Regions from separate parts of the Homo sapiens genome. Here region 2 is linked to region 1. The links are contacts of gene promoters, found by promoter capture Hi-C in human tissues and cell types (Jung and others, 2019). All regions are on one chromosome and are shown on one strand. Each heading gives the region's core, a stretch centred on a gene start or on the middle of the fragment in contact. The rest is flanking DNA. Distances are from core to core; before and after follow the strand shown. Region 1 holds the start of RBPMS2 (RNA binding protein, mRNA processing factor 2). Region 2 overlaps ZNF609 (zinc finger protein 609).

Region 1 (6,341 bases), core at 2,773-5,272:
CCTAAGGATGAAATATTGAAGGATGATGTATGTACAGTACATCAAAGAGAAAGGGCCATTGGCTTCAGATAGCCCAGAAGCTCCAGGAATAGCCCAGTATTGGTTCAGCAAAGGTTTATTAAACACCTACTACTGAAAATGCCCACCATCATCTGCTCCTTGCTGGAGGCCAGGGGGCTGCAGAGGTTAAGGAGTTCTACTCACTCAGCAGGGTTTACAGCCACTCCTTGGAGTCAGAAAGCTTCCCATGTGGTAGGTGAGACTTCAAAACAAGGTATTCCCAGGTTCAACACGACACAGAGAAGGCACTCTGAGAGCACAGGGGAGAGAGAATGGGTACTGGGAAAGGTCTGGAAGCTGGGGGTGGAGAGTGAGGATGGGAGGATTCCAGACAAAAGGAATAGAAATTCGAGAAGCTCAGAGGTGATATGGAGCATGACAGTGGGGGAGGCCTGGGGCACTGAAGAGATTACTAGAGGCTACACTACTAGGTCATAGCTGGGGAGACAGAGATATAAGTTCCTACCCTTCAGATGTCTGAAAGAGTTGTACACCCCAAACTCCTCTCTCTAGCCTCTTTCACATCAGCTTCTGGTCAGCACCAATGGGTACGCCTGACTACTCATGAAGGTGCGGGCTGGGTGGGAGCTTTGTGTTTATATGATCTCCAAATCCATGTGAGATTGGAGATTCTGCCATTTCAGGGGCCATAGGGGTGCACAGAGAGGGAAAAGACAGTTGTTGCCTCCAAAGTGCTTAAGGGCTGGTCACACATACAGGAAACTTTCTGAGGCATTAAGAATGCTCATATAAGAGGGCGGGCTCATGCCTGTAATCTCAGCACTTTGAGAGGCCAAGGTGAGCAGATTACTTGAGGCCAGGAGTTCAAGACCAGCCTGGCCAACACGGTGAAACCTTGTCCCTACTAAAAATACAAAAATTAGCCAGGTGTGACAGCGAGTGTGGTGGCAGGCACCTGTAATCCCAGCTACTCAGGAGGCTGAGGCACGAGAACTGCTCGAACCTGGGAGATGGAGGATGCACTGCACTCAAGCCTGGTGACATAGTGAGACTCCGTCTCAAAGAAAAAGAAAAAAAAAAGAATCCTCATATAAAGTTTGCCTATGAAGGCAAAAGAGAAAATAAACTGGAAATAATACAAATATCTAACAAGAGACAGGTTAAATAAGTAATGGCAGTCTAATAAGGGGTAAGCATTTACTACAAATTATGAAGAACTTAAGAAGAAATACAGGCTGGGTGTGGTGGCTCACGCCTATAATACCAGCACTTTGGGAGGCCAAGGTGGGAGGATCACTTGAGCCCAGGAGTTCAACACCAGCTTGGGACAACATAATGAGAGGCCAGTCTCTTAAAAAAAAAAAAAAAAAATTAGCTGGGCGTGGTGTTGCACCTGTAATCACAGCTACCTGGGAGGCTGAGGTAGAAGGATCACTTGAGCCCAGGAGTTCAAGGCTGGAGTGAGCTGTGATTGTGCCACTGCACTCCAGCTTGGGTGACAGAGCAAGATCTTTTTTCTAAAAAAAGAAAAGAAGGCCGGGCGCGGTGGCTCACGCCTGTAATCTCAGCACTTTGGGAGGCTGATGGGGGCAGATTACAAGGTCAAGAGATCAAGATCATCCTCACCAACATGGGGAAACCGTCTCTACTAAAAATACAAAAGTTAGCTGGGCGTGGTTGTGCGTTCCTGTAGTCCCAGCTACTCAGGAGGCTGAGGCAGAATAGCTTGAAACTGGGAGGTGGAGGTTGCAGTGAGCCGAGATCGCATCACTGCACTCCAGTCTGGCAACAGAGCAAGACTGCATCTCAAAAAAGCCCCCAAAACAAAAAAAAAAAAAATGAAAAAAGAAAAGAAATGTAGTGATGGGGGTCAGTTGTGGCCCCTGTGTCATTTGTCACCTTTTTGGGCCTTAGCTCTCCCATCTATGGAGAAAACAGAGACCAGAATGGAGAAGAAGGGTGACCAGAATTACAAGATGAGAGGCTCTTCTTTGAAAAATTCAAATTAACCATATAATGGCTGAGTTCAGAAATCTGGCCAGGCTCCTTCTCCTGGAAAAAGCATGGGAAAGGCAGGATCTTGAGGGAAGGGAAGATTTTGGATTGATTAGGGGGAGCGGGGGAGGAAGAGGAAGAGGAAGAGTATTCCTGGGCCAAAGTTAGAGACAAACCTGATAGGAAGACCTATTCTAGGGGAGGGGATGGTGATCAAGCCCACAGCCAGATTGGACTGAGGCCTGTGGAGGATGGTAGGGGTATCTGAGGGTTCCCAAGGTTGGTTCTATCTGGAGATGCCTGAGGCTGGAGGCATCTTAAAAACTCTGGGTAAAGGTCTGGCTCCTACAGGCAGCAGCTCCCTCTTCATAGGGCCTGAGCCAAGTGTTGGCAACAGGGCTGATGGGAAACCAGGGTGCTCTTGGCCTTGCCACCAGCAGAAAATGGTCCCCAGCCCACAGTAGGTGCTCAATAATTATTTACTAAAGGAATGAGTATATCATTGGAAAGACATTGCCCATCTCTAGGCCTCAATTTATCTGTGAGATGGCAGGTCAGGATGGAGATTATAATTTACTGGGAAGACTAAGCCACAGCACAGTGATCCTGTGGTGCTAGTCCTACCTAATTCAGGAGGTCGACACACAGAGGTTCTGGGGGCTCAGGCACTTGTCCACGGTCTGGGATCCTAACCAGTCCGTGACTGCAAATCCAGCTTTTCTTTTTTCTTTTCTTTTTTTGAGACGGAGTTTCGCTCTTGTTGCCCTGGCTGGAGTGCAATGGCAAGATCTCGGGTCACCGCAACCTCCGCCCCGTCCAGGAGAAGGGGCACTGAGGAGGGACCCAGTTCTCCCGCGGCTCTGCCGGATTCAGGCTGCAGCGCTTCCAGCGCTCCCCGAGGTGGGTGCGGGTTTCTACTGTGGCAGCAGGGCGGGCCCCCATCGGCTGGGTTTTCAAATAGAAGAGAAAACCGACCCAGAGGCCGCGCCCTACTGACCTGCGCGGGGGTGCGGGGGGAGTCACGACGACCTCCCCCACCTCCCCCAGCCTCTAGGCTATTACATCCGTCCCCAGCCTTCGGGCTCAGAATAGGAGGCAGGGAAAGGTGTGAGGGGCACTGAGGTCGGGGGAGGAGCGAGAAGACCCGAAAGCCAGGCGTGTTGAGGGCAAGGTGGGCAACAGAACCTTCTTGGTCATTCGAGGCAGCCCTCGCTAATGACCATTGGGGTCCCAACACTCGAATCCCCACCTAAGTCCTATTCAGATAGTGACTGGGAGTGGGAAGGGAGTTTGAGATCCTAAGTCCCACCCTCTGGGCTGGGAGCCTGAGGCCAGAGAGGGGAAGTGATTTCCTCAAGGTCACTCAGCAAAACAGCGCCCAGCCCGGGCCAAAGCTCAGGTGTCTCCCAACCCCCTCCCCCCGGCCATCACCCCCAGAACTCGGTCCCCCGGAGCTGAGGTCTGCGCGACTGGATTTAGGGGCAGAATGAGTGCGTCGGGAACCCCAAAACCCTAGATCAAGATACAAGGGGAGTCGACGGCCCGGAAACCTCGCTGCGGGTGCCCTAAGCGCGAGGCCGCCCGGGCAGGGCCGCCCAGGGACCGGGGCGCTGGGTGCGGGGCACGGGGCTCCACCTCCCGCGGGCTGGGGCGCGCAGCGCGCGGCCCCTTTAAGAAAGTTCGCCGGGCGAGTTCATCAAAGTTTAAAAACTCGCCGTGGAGAAGGGCGCGGGGGAAGAGGAGAGAGGGAGAGCGCTGACCCAGGCGAGAGAGAGGGGAAAGGCCCGGCCGGAGGCCGGCGCCCCGCGGCCGGGGCCGGGGCGAGCCCACGGTGGGCGGTGGGGATTGGCTGCGCGTTCCCCCGGAGACCGCGCGGCGGGCGGGGGAGGGGGCTGGCCGGGCCCCAGCTGAGGCCGGTTCCGGCCCCGCCCCCCGCCGCCGGCGCCCGCCCCCTCCCCCGGCGCCCGCCCCCCGCCGCCGCTGCCGCCGCCGCCGCCGCCGCGGCGCACTCGCCGGTCGCAGTGAAAAGGCGGAGGCGGCGGCCCCTCCGGCTCCCACTGCCTCCCCCGCCGCACCCCCTCCCCACCTTCCGCACCCGCCAAACTTGATGTGACCCTGGCCCGACGCGGAGGCTGCCCCTCTCACTGCCCCGTGGGTCCCCCGCCACCCGCTCCGCACCCGCGAGCGCACCGCTCCCCGCGCCCCTTCCCACTTCCCGCGGGGCCGGCGCCGCGCTCGCCCTCGCGTTCCTTCCCGCCGCCCCCTCCCCCGCACCATGAGCAACCTGAAGCCGGACGGCGAGCACGGCGGCAGCACCGGCACCGGCTCCGGCGCGGGCTCCGGCGGCGCCCTGGAGGAGGAGGTGGGTCTGTGGCCCCGGGACTTGCCGGGTGAAGCGCACGCCAGGCGGGCGCGGGAGAGGGCGAGCGGGGCCTGCCGCGCCTCGCGGGGCCGGGGTGGCCATCGCTCCCGGCGCCTTCCCGCCGCTGCCCTCTCGCCCGGGTAGGAGCGGCCCGTGTCCGCGGGCGGGAGCGTGCGGCCTGGACTGCCCCGCCGGACAGGCATTGTCTCCCCGCCCTCTCGGGCTCGAGGCGGGCCGCGCGCGCCGGCCGCCGTCCGGGCGTCCCGCGGTGGGCGAGATGCGCCGCGTCCGTTCCATGCCTGCCGCCCGCGCGCCCCTTGCTCCCCACCCCGTAGCCGCTCGCCGCCCTCCTCCGAGGCGCACCTCCTGCGTGGCCAGGACCCCGCCTCGGCGGCACGGAGCGGAGCGGGATTAGCACGGCCCGAGGGCGGCACCCTCACTCCACTGCCTTTTCCGCCCTGACCCCCTCCCCGTGACCTTGGAGGCCTGGGCCGGCCGGCTCCTCGGTTCCTGCGAGCTGTTGTCATGGGGGTGGGCGGGCTTTCTTCACAGCCCCAGAACCTGGGCTTTGGCAGAGGTGAGCCCACAATTTAATTAGTTTGGAAGATGACTAAAGACACTCAGTTCGTCCTTCTCCTCTCTCTGGGTTTGTCCTGGCAACCAAGCCAGGACCCCAAAGCTGGCCTGGGTGGGATCCTGCCAGGAGGGGCGAAATCATCTCGTCCACCGGCCATGTGCGAAAGGGAGGGAGTGTAAGGCGGCTCCGTGGAACCACCAGCAGCTGGGTGGTTAATGGATGGTAGGGAGGATGTGTGTGCGGGGTGGGGTGCTGGATAAAAGCCTCAAAGATATCAGTGAATAGGGACGAGGAGCTAGGCTGGCGGAGACAAGAACTGGAGTAGAAGGGGACAGGCTTCGCAGGGCCTCTGGCCTCTGCTGCGTCATTCTAGGGGTGAGAGAGCCTTCCTGCCCCTGCCCTGGCATGTTCTCGCCCAGGAAACCAAGGGCTGGTTATCCACCTTGGGCGCCCTTCCCCTTGGCCTGGGGGAGAAACCGCAGAGCCCCTGGTGTGGACTGGTGTTGCCTCCTCCCCTTGTGCTGGGGGTTGGTGCAGAATGGCGCCGGTGGCCCTCGGCTGGGCTGGGCTCAGCGCCGCCAGCTCCCACTCGGCTATTCAGAGACCTTCAGCCAGCCCCAGTCGATGACAATCTAGGTTTGGATCTCCACTTTTTGGCGGAAGGGGAAGGGAAGAATATACAACTGTGACATCTGTCCACTAATGACTTAAGTGTGGTGGATTTGTTTGGGCTCCAGAGGCCTTGCCCTCCTTGTACCTTGATGCCAAAAGGCCCTTGGCTTTGGGGATCTTGCCCCCATCCTGACTCTACCTGGCTGTTAGAATCTCCCTTGACAGTTGGGGAGGGTGACAGGGTTGCTAGCGTACTTGGAGTCTCTGCTTGGCCCCCTGCTGTGGGCTGAAACTGGGGGAGAGCATGTCTCCTATAAAGCTGAATGGGGACCCAGAACCCCACTTCTGCTAAAGGGTCTACTTCAGTGGGGACTTCACACTGCCCAAGAGGCTGGTACTGGGCAAACCCTCAGACCCACTGCTGTTGGGTGAGAAGGGTGACCCATGTGGCCATTCTAAGTCTTGAAAAAAGCATTTGAGGTTTTAGCCACTCCTTTCTAAGTACCTTTTCTGGGAAAGAGGGCAGGATTCTCAAAAAGTGGAATCCCTACTATTCCTCCTTGGGAGTTGAGATGGCCTGCGGCCCTATGGTGGTTCCAAATCCGCGCACTTGGAAAAGGGCATGGTGGGCTCGCGTTTAGCAGAGGTCCAGAACAAAGGGTTCTGAGGGTCTCCTGGAGCCCAGTGTCTGTCTGGTCTGGTAAGGGAAAGGGTTATTCCCCAAGCCCTGGCCTAGTCTTCTGAATAGTGGGCCATGAGCCCCTGTGCTGGTGG
Region 2 (6,341 bases), core at 2,113-4,612, 270 kb after region 1:
AATATTGACTATGTCAATGTCATCTAGGATGAATGACTTTAGGGAATAGGATTTGTTAAAAATGTCTCCTCGGTCAGCCAGGAAAGGTTCTTCTGTGGGTGCTCTGAACCATGACTAAACTGTACCGAGAGAAATATATTTTAAAATATTAATATGGTCTGGCACCTTCCTGATGCTAATGGTTCCAGGCCCACCCCAATGGCACAACTGGGAAATTAAGTGAAGAGAAAAGCCATCTTCCCTCTGCTCTCTATTTCAAATGGTCCTCCTCCACAGCTTTGCCACGCACAGACTCATTCTATACATATACACAGAGATACAACATGCTCATACACACAAATAACTCTCCACAGGAACTGAAAATCAAAGCCTAACCCCATGGTTTTTAAGTGAGCAAGTCCAATTTCCTTCTTTGTAGCTCTTGACACATGCTGGCTGGGAGCCGTCTGGATTTTTTCTGCCTTGTTCCTGCACCAGAAGGCTCTGCACTGCAGGTCAGGGGATGATAAGGAAATGAACAGTGTAATTTCCAAGGCCTCTGAACACAGCCCTGTCAGCAGCTCTGGAGGCGGGTTACTCAAGCATGGCTTGAAGAGTGAAAACCACAGAGAGAGGGCTCAGACAGCCAGCAGTGGCAGGATCTCAGCTGTGTATGTTACTGCCACATCCCAAGCCCTGCTGCCTCCCTGGATGAGCTCTGCTGGTAAAAGCTCTTATACCCAAATGGCAAAAATACAAGTTCACACTGGGGGAGGAAGATTAAGGGCTAAGACTTAGATTTTTTCCATGCAGTCTTGTGTAGAAACAAAAACACTTAGCACTACTCCAGTGTCCGTGAGATTGCATATTCCGGCAAAACCACAGTAACATCTATCCAACATACCCAACCCCATGCCAGGGATATGGCCAGAAAAGAAGCTCGATTCATATGAAGTCTGAAATTCAACAGGCCACTTCAATATGCCCTAAGCTAATTTTTGGTCTTCCCCCCACCTCCAACTATAATTATCAGGGGCTTTAGAACACATCACCACCATGAAAATTTCCCAGCCTAGATTTGGAACTTCTTCAGACCATAGTGCTAAAAAGTCTTAGCTAACATGTATATCTATTCATACTGGGATTCCTGTAAAGTGGAATGTTGTTGTATTTCAGTACATTATTGCCTAGGAGAGACTAAGACCAATTTCCACTCAAACTGTATTTTTCTTTTTTCTAATATTTATTGAATGCTTCCTACGTGCCAGGCACTAAGTGTTTTATATGAATTAGCTAACTTAATCTAAAGACAAACTTTTTTTTTTTTCTTGAGACAGAGTTTTGCTCTTGTTGCCCAGGCTGGAGTGCAACAGCACAATCTCAGCTCACTGCAACCTCTGCCTCCCGGGTTCAAGTGATTCTCCTGCCTCAGCATCCTGAGTAGCTGGGACTACAGGCATGCACCACCACGCCCGACTAATTTTGTATTTTTAGTAGAGACAGGGTTTCTCCATGTTGGTCAGGCTGGTCTCGAACTCCCGACCTCAGGTGATCCACCCGCCTTGGCCTCCCAAAGTGCTGGGATTATAGGCGTGAGCCACCGCGCCCGGCCTAAAGACAAACTTAAAGGCTGGGTGTGACGGCTCATGCCTGTAATCCCAGCACTTTGGGAGGCCAAGGCGGGTGGATCACTTGAGCCCAGGAGCTCGACACCAGCCTGGCCAACACAACGAAACCCTGTCTCTACTAAAAATACAAAAATTAGCCAGGCATGGTGGTGCATGCCTGTAATCCCAGCTACTCTGGAGGTTAAGGCAGAGGTTGCAATGAGCAGAGACTGCACCACTGCACTCCAGCCTGGGCGGCAGAGTGAGACTCCCTCTCATAAATAAATAAATAAATACAAACTTATGTAGGTGCTATTTCTCTCATTTTGCAGATAAGAAAACTGAGGAAGAACAATTAAGAAACTTGGTCAAGATCACTCAGTAAATAAGTGCAAAGGTAGGAAACAAAGCCAGGTAGTCTGGCTCCAGAGTTCACACTTTTTAAAAAATTTATTATTATTATTTTTTTGAGACGGAGTCTCACTCTGTTGCCCAGGCTGGAGTGCACTAGTGCGATCACAGCTCACTACTGCAGCCTCAACCTCCCAGGCTCAAGCCAGGAGGCCTGGCTAGAGTTTACGCTTTTAGCCACTAAATTATACATAAGAGTTGATGTGAAATTCAAGTTTAGAAGGCTGGTGTTTTAAATGAGAAGTGGCCCCGAATACTTACCTTGAAAGGAAAATTCTCAAACTTTGATGTATATAGCAATTATCTGGAGAGACTTCTGGAAGTACAGATTTCTGGGCCCTTACCCCAAAAACTTATTCGGCATATCTAGGGTAGGGTCCAAGAATGTGCATTTTTGATACTCTGGTGATGTACATGGTTTTATGGGACACACTTTTAGGAACTCTGCTGTAGACGGTAAACTGTAAGCTCCTCAAAAAGCAGAGACCATCTCTGTTTTATTTACCAGTGTATACCCAATACCAAGTAGAAAACCTAGTATCTAAAATGCATTCAATTAATGTACTGACTGAATGAAAAGTGATAACAATTAGCCAACAGTATATCTTCTCTACAAAATACTTAGTAATATCCACAATACATTTGAAGGTCTGCCTATTAGTGATGTGTCCAAGGAAGAAGCACTAGAACAGGGTTTTTTTTCTTACCTGCAATTGCCAAGTAAAGAAAGAACTATTCCTCAATTATTATAATGAAAATTTGGCTGGATGAAATATTCCAGAACACACACACATATATCATAAGTAGTCAAGCTCAAAGTAGCAGTTTTAAAGTAACTTTCCTTCTTTATAAATAACAGGATAGGTTCAGTGCCAGCTGTAATGGTTATTCTTTGCAAACATCATTCATTACCTTACCTAAAATCCTAAACTCAAAGATCCTTTGTTTATTGAGTGTCTACAATGTTAAAGTCACTGTGAAAAACAAGTGAAAGCAGTTTTGGGGTAAAAGCAATTTTGGAGTATGTAAGCATTTTCATCTAATGTTTCAAGGTAGTCTTTACATTGAAAAAATGGCTGGGTGTGGTGGCACACACTTGTAGTCCCAGCTACTTGCGAGGCCAAGGCAGAAGTGCATAAGTGAGACCAAGGCAGAAGTGCATAAGTGAGGCCAAGGCAGAAGTGCATAAGCCCAGGAGTTCAAGATCAGCATTGGCAACATAGCGAGACCCTGCCTTAAAAATAAGCAAATAGGCTGGGTGTGGTGGCTCATGCCTGTAATCTCAGCACTCTGGGAGGCCGAAGCAGGTGGATCACTTGAAGTCAGGAATTTGAGACCAGCCTGGCCAACATGGTGAACCCCTATCCCTACTAAAATTAAAAAAAAAAAAAAAAAACTAGCCAGGCATGGTGGTATGCACTTGTAATCCCAGCTACTCGGGGAGCTAAGGCAGGAGAATCGCTTGAATCAGAGGCAGAGGCTGCAATGAGCCGAGATCGTGCCACTGCACTCCAGCCTGGGTGACAGAGTGAGTCTCCATCTCGAAAATAATAATACTAAGAAAATAACAAATAAAGTGGGAAAATTGAGAATCCTTCCTGACAGTTAAAGATTTGTTAAGAATCCCAGAGTAACAACATGCCATAAGAATTTGGTGTCTACAAATCTGGCTTTGCCAGTGACTACCTGTGAGATGCTGGGCAAGTCACAGGACTTCACTGGTCTTAGTTTCTTCTATAAAATGAGGAAATTGGACAAGATAATCTTTCTCTGGAACTGCCTTGAATTACAACACCTAGAAGGAAAACAGAGTTTCTGAATGAAAAAATAAATTAAGCTTGTAGTTACAGAATGCAACTCTGTCCCACATAAATATCAACTTCTTTTTAATGTTTTCCATGAAGGAAAATCTTGAGGGCATTTGGTTTCAGGAAGCAAAGCTGACTGCTCTGCCATCAATAGCTGAGAAATAACAGCTAGTGGAAGAAGGCGTTAAGAAAGCCTTGGATCAGAAGGAATAAAAGAGACCTGACCTTGGTTAGGCAATGAGGGACTACAATACAAGAGAACTAAGCTAGAAGGCACAAATTAGGGCAGGAATACAAAACCAATGGCAAAGGAAGATGCTCTTAAGAACACAGGATATGATAGCATGCATGATCAGAAGTTGAAAGAGCAAAGAGCACACTTTATGGTTTTCTTTGTATCCTAAACTAATGGGGGAAGTGGTAAATATATGCAGCATTCTGAAAGCAGCAGAAGCTGACATTCAAACACGGGAAAAGCAAAGTGCAGTGTTCCTACCTTGCAAGATCAAAAGCAGCAGCTAAAGACATGTGAGGGGGAGCTTCTGGTTAGAAACTTCTAGATCCTTTCTTTAACTACTAGAGCCTACTTGGCTATTTTATATGATTTGGGGGAAAAGAAGGAGTCTCACCTTAAACTCCTGGTCGTAAGCCCTGACAAAGTCAGCACAGATAGATCGTTGCCATCTGTGGTTTGTAAATTCCTTTTTTCTTGCCTGTCAGAGTGGCGACATAAGCACTAAGCTCAGGACACTCAGACAGGCGCCTGCCCTCCTCCCTACCTCCCCTTCCATCCCTAACTTAACAATCCATCAATCAAACTAAAGGCAAGGGAACAGGCAAGAGCTGGAAGGCTCTGTCTTGTTTATTCCTCAACATTCCCTCCCCCATCTCTTCAGCTGGCAGGAAGTATGAGGCAGAAGTGTTCAATAACAATTCAGAGCAGCAGCAGTTGCTAAGAGCCATCTCTGGTCTCTCCTAGAACTCTGGGAAACAGCACAGAGCTCACTCTGTCAGAGGAAGGTATGGTCGAGCAAAAGTGGGATCCCATGAAGGGAAATCCACATCCTTGTCTGACAGAAAATTTCCCAGGCCATAGCCTGAGATATCTACCTTCACAAAGAAGAACATGAGATAGATAATTTCTCTCTTTCTTTTTTTTTTTTTTTGAGACAAGGTCTGGCTCTATTGCCTAGGCTGGAGTCCAGTGGTGCCGTCTCAGCTCAATGCAACCTCCACCTCGCAGGCTCAAGCTATCCTTCCACCTCAGCCTCCCCAGTAGCTGGGATTACGGGTGCACACCACCAATGCCCGGCTAATTTTTGTAGAGACAGGGTTTCACCATGTTGCCTAGGCTGGTCTCAAACTCCTGAGCTTAAGCAATCTGCCCACCTAGGCCTCCCAAAGTGCTGGGATTACAGGCATGAATCACCAGGCCCAGCCAGTAATTTCAATATTCAAATCTTCCTCATTGGCTAGTAGTCAACACTGCTACTCTGCACCACAGAATTCAGTCAAGAAACTTCCCAAATTTTATGAGTTCTTCCTCTTCATGACAGTTCCCAGTTGAGAGGATGCAATTCTTAGATTATATCAAAACATCTGTTTTGCTATTTTGGTTCTGTTTGTTATCCCTACATAGAAACGTCCCAAACCACAGGCAAGCCCATTTCTCAGAGAGAAAATTTTAAAGAAGTTTTCAAAGACTTTGCTTATAAATTATAGTACTAATCATCAAATACTCACTGAGCACCTATTATGCCCCAAACCGGAGATTGTTGTTTCTCAAAAACCGCTCCTCTGCATGGTTCCTAACTTCCTTTCCTTTAACTTGCCTCTTCTGCTCCTCCCAGTCCAGAAATGTTCTCTCCCTGCACAGCATGTTTTAATCTCCTAGCAACTTCCAAACATTTATTTAAATAATTATTTATTTCAATAGCCAAAGGTAATATGGAAAGGCACCCTCAGGACCAGACTGTCCAAAAGGGTTGAGGGAACAGGGGAAGGAATTGAGAAAGCAGGTTCTTGCTTATGGTTACATGAAACTGTATAGCAAATTTTCTGCTTCTAAAAGTAATTGCCAGCAATTTTCTCTATCTTTCAAAAACTGAAGCACAGTCTCTTTCCCTTTTCTTTCTCATTCTGCTGCCCCATTCTCAGAGTCTCCCTGGGAGGCAAAGCTTATATGGCAAAGCAACATTATTAAGGGACAAAACTCCCTGGCACCAGGATGTATTCTTAGCTGAACATACTGCATCTTTCAGCCCAATTATAATCTGAAGGGCAGCCACCCAATCAGTCCCTGCACCTCTATGTGAGAAAATGGGTTCCATTTGCTTCTCTGTTAGAGACAATCATGGACATTTACACTTAAATCCAACATAAAGCTAAGCAATATTAATCCTTTCATCCACAGACTATCACTGGGCTTAGAAGGTTGCAACATAAGTACTCTAAAATTTAGATAGGAGAATGAAGGTCATCCTCAGAAGTACTTTTTAGCACAGGAAGAATAATGATTATGAATATGGATATATGG

Evidence for each region. Contacts are between HindIII fragments. The study calls those that stand out against the background at their distance.
Region 2: a fragment that was not itself captured here is called in contact with the fragment with the promoter of RBPMS2 in region 1 in 2 of the 25 tissues and cell types used here (IMR-90 fibroblasts and spleen).

The regions. Positions count from the first base shown.
Region 1 is chr15:64,773,270-64,779,610 of GRCh38, reverse strand. It overlaps RBPMS2 (RNA binding protein, mRNA processing factor 2), which reads left to right and starts at 4,022. Exons shown (of 8, transcript NM_194272.3): 1 at 4,022-4,378. The coding sequence starts at 4,292. RefSeq lists enhancers at 2,469-3,314, 3,315-4,161 and a silencer at 3,597-3,846. The HindIII fragment of the contact is 13,175 bases long and covers 1-6,341 here.
Region 2 is chr15:64,501,689-64,508,029 of GRCh38, reverse strand. The region is part of intron 2 of ZNF609 (zinc finger protein 609); the gene reads right to left. Among named protein-coding and RNA genes, the nearest start is that of ZNF609, 44 kb to the right of the region's middle. The HindIII fragment of the contact is 8,439 bases long and covers 1-6,341 here.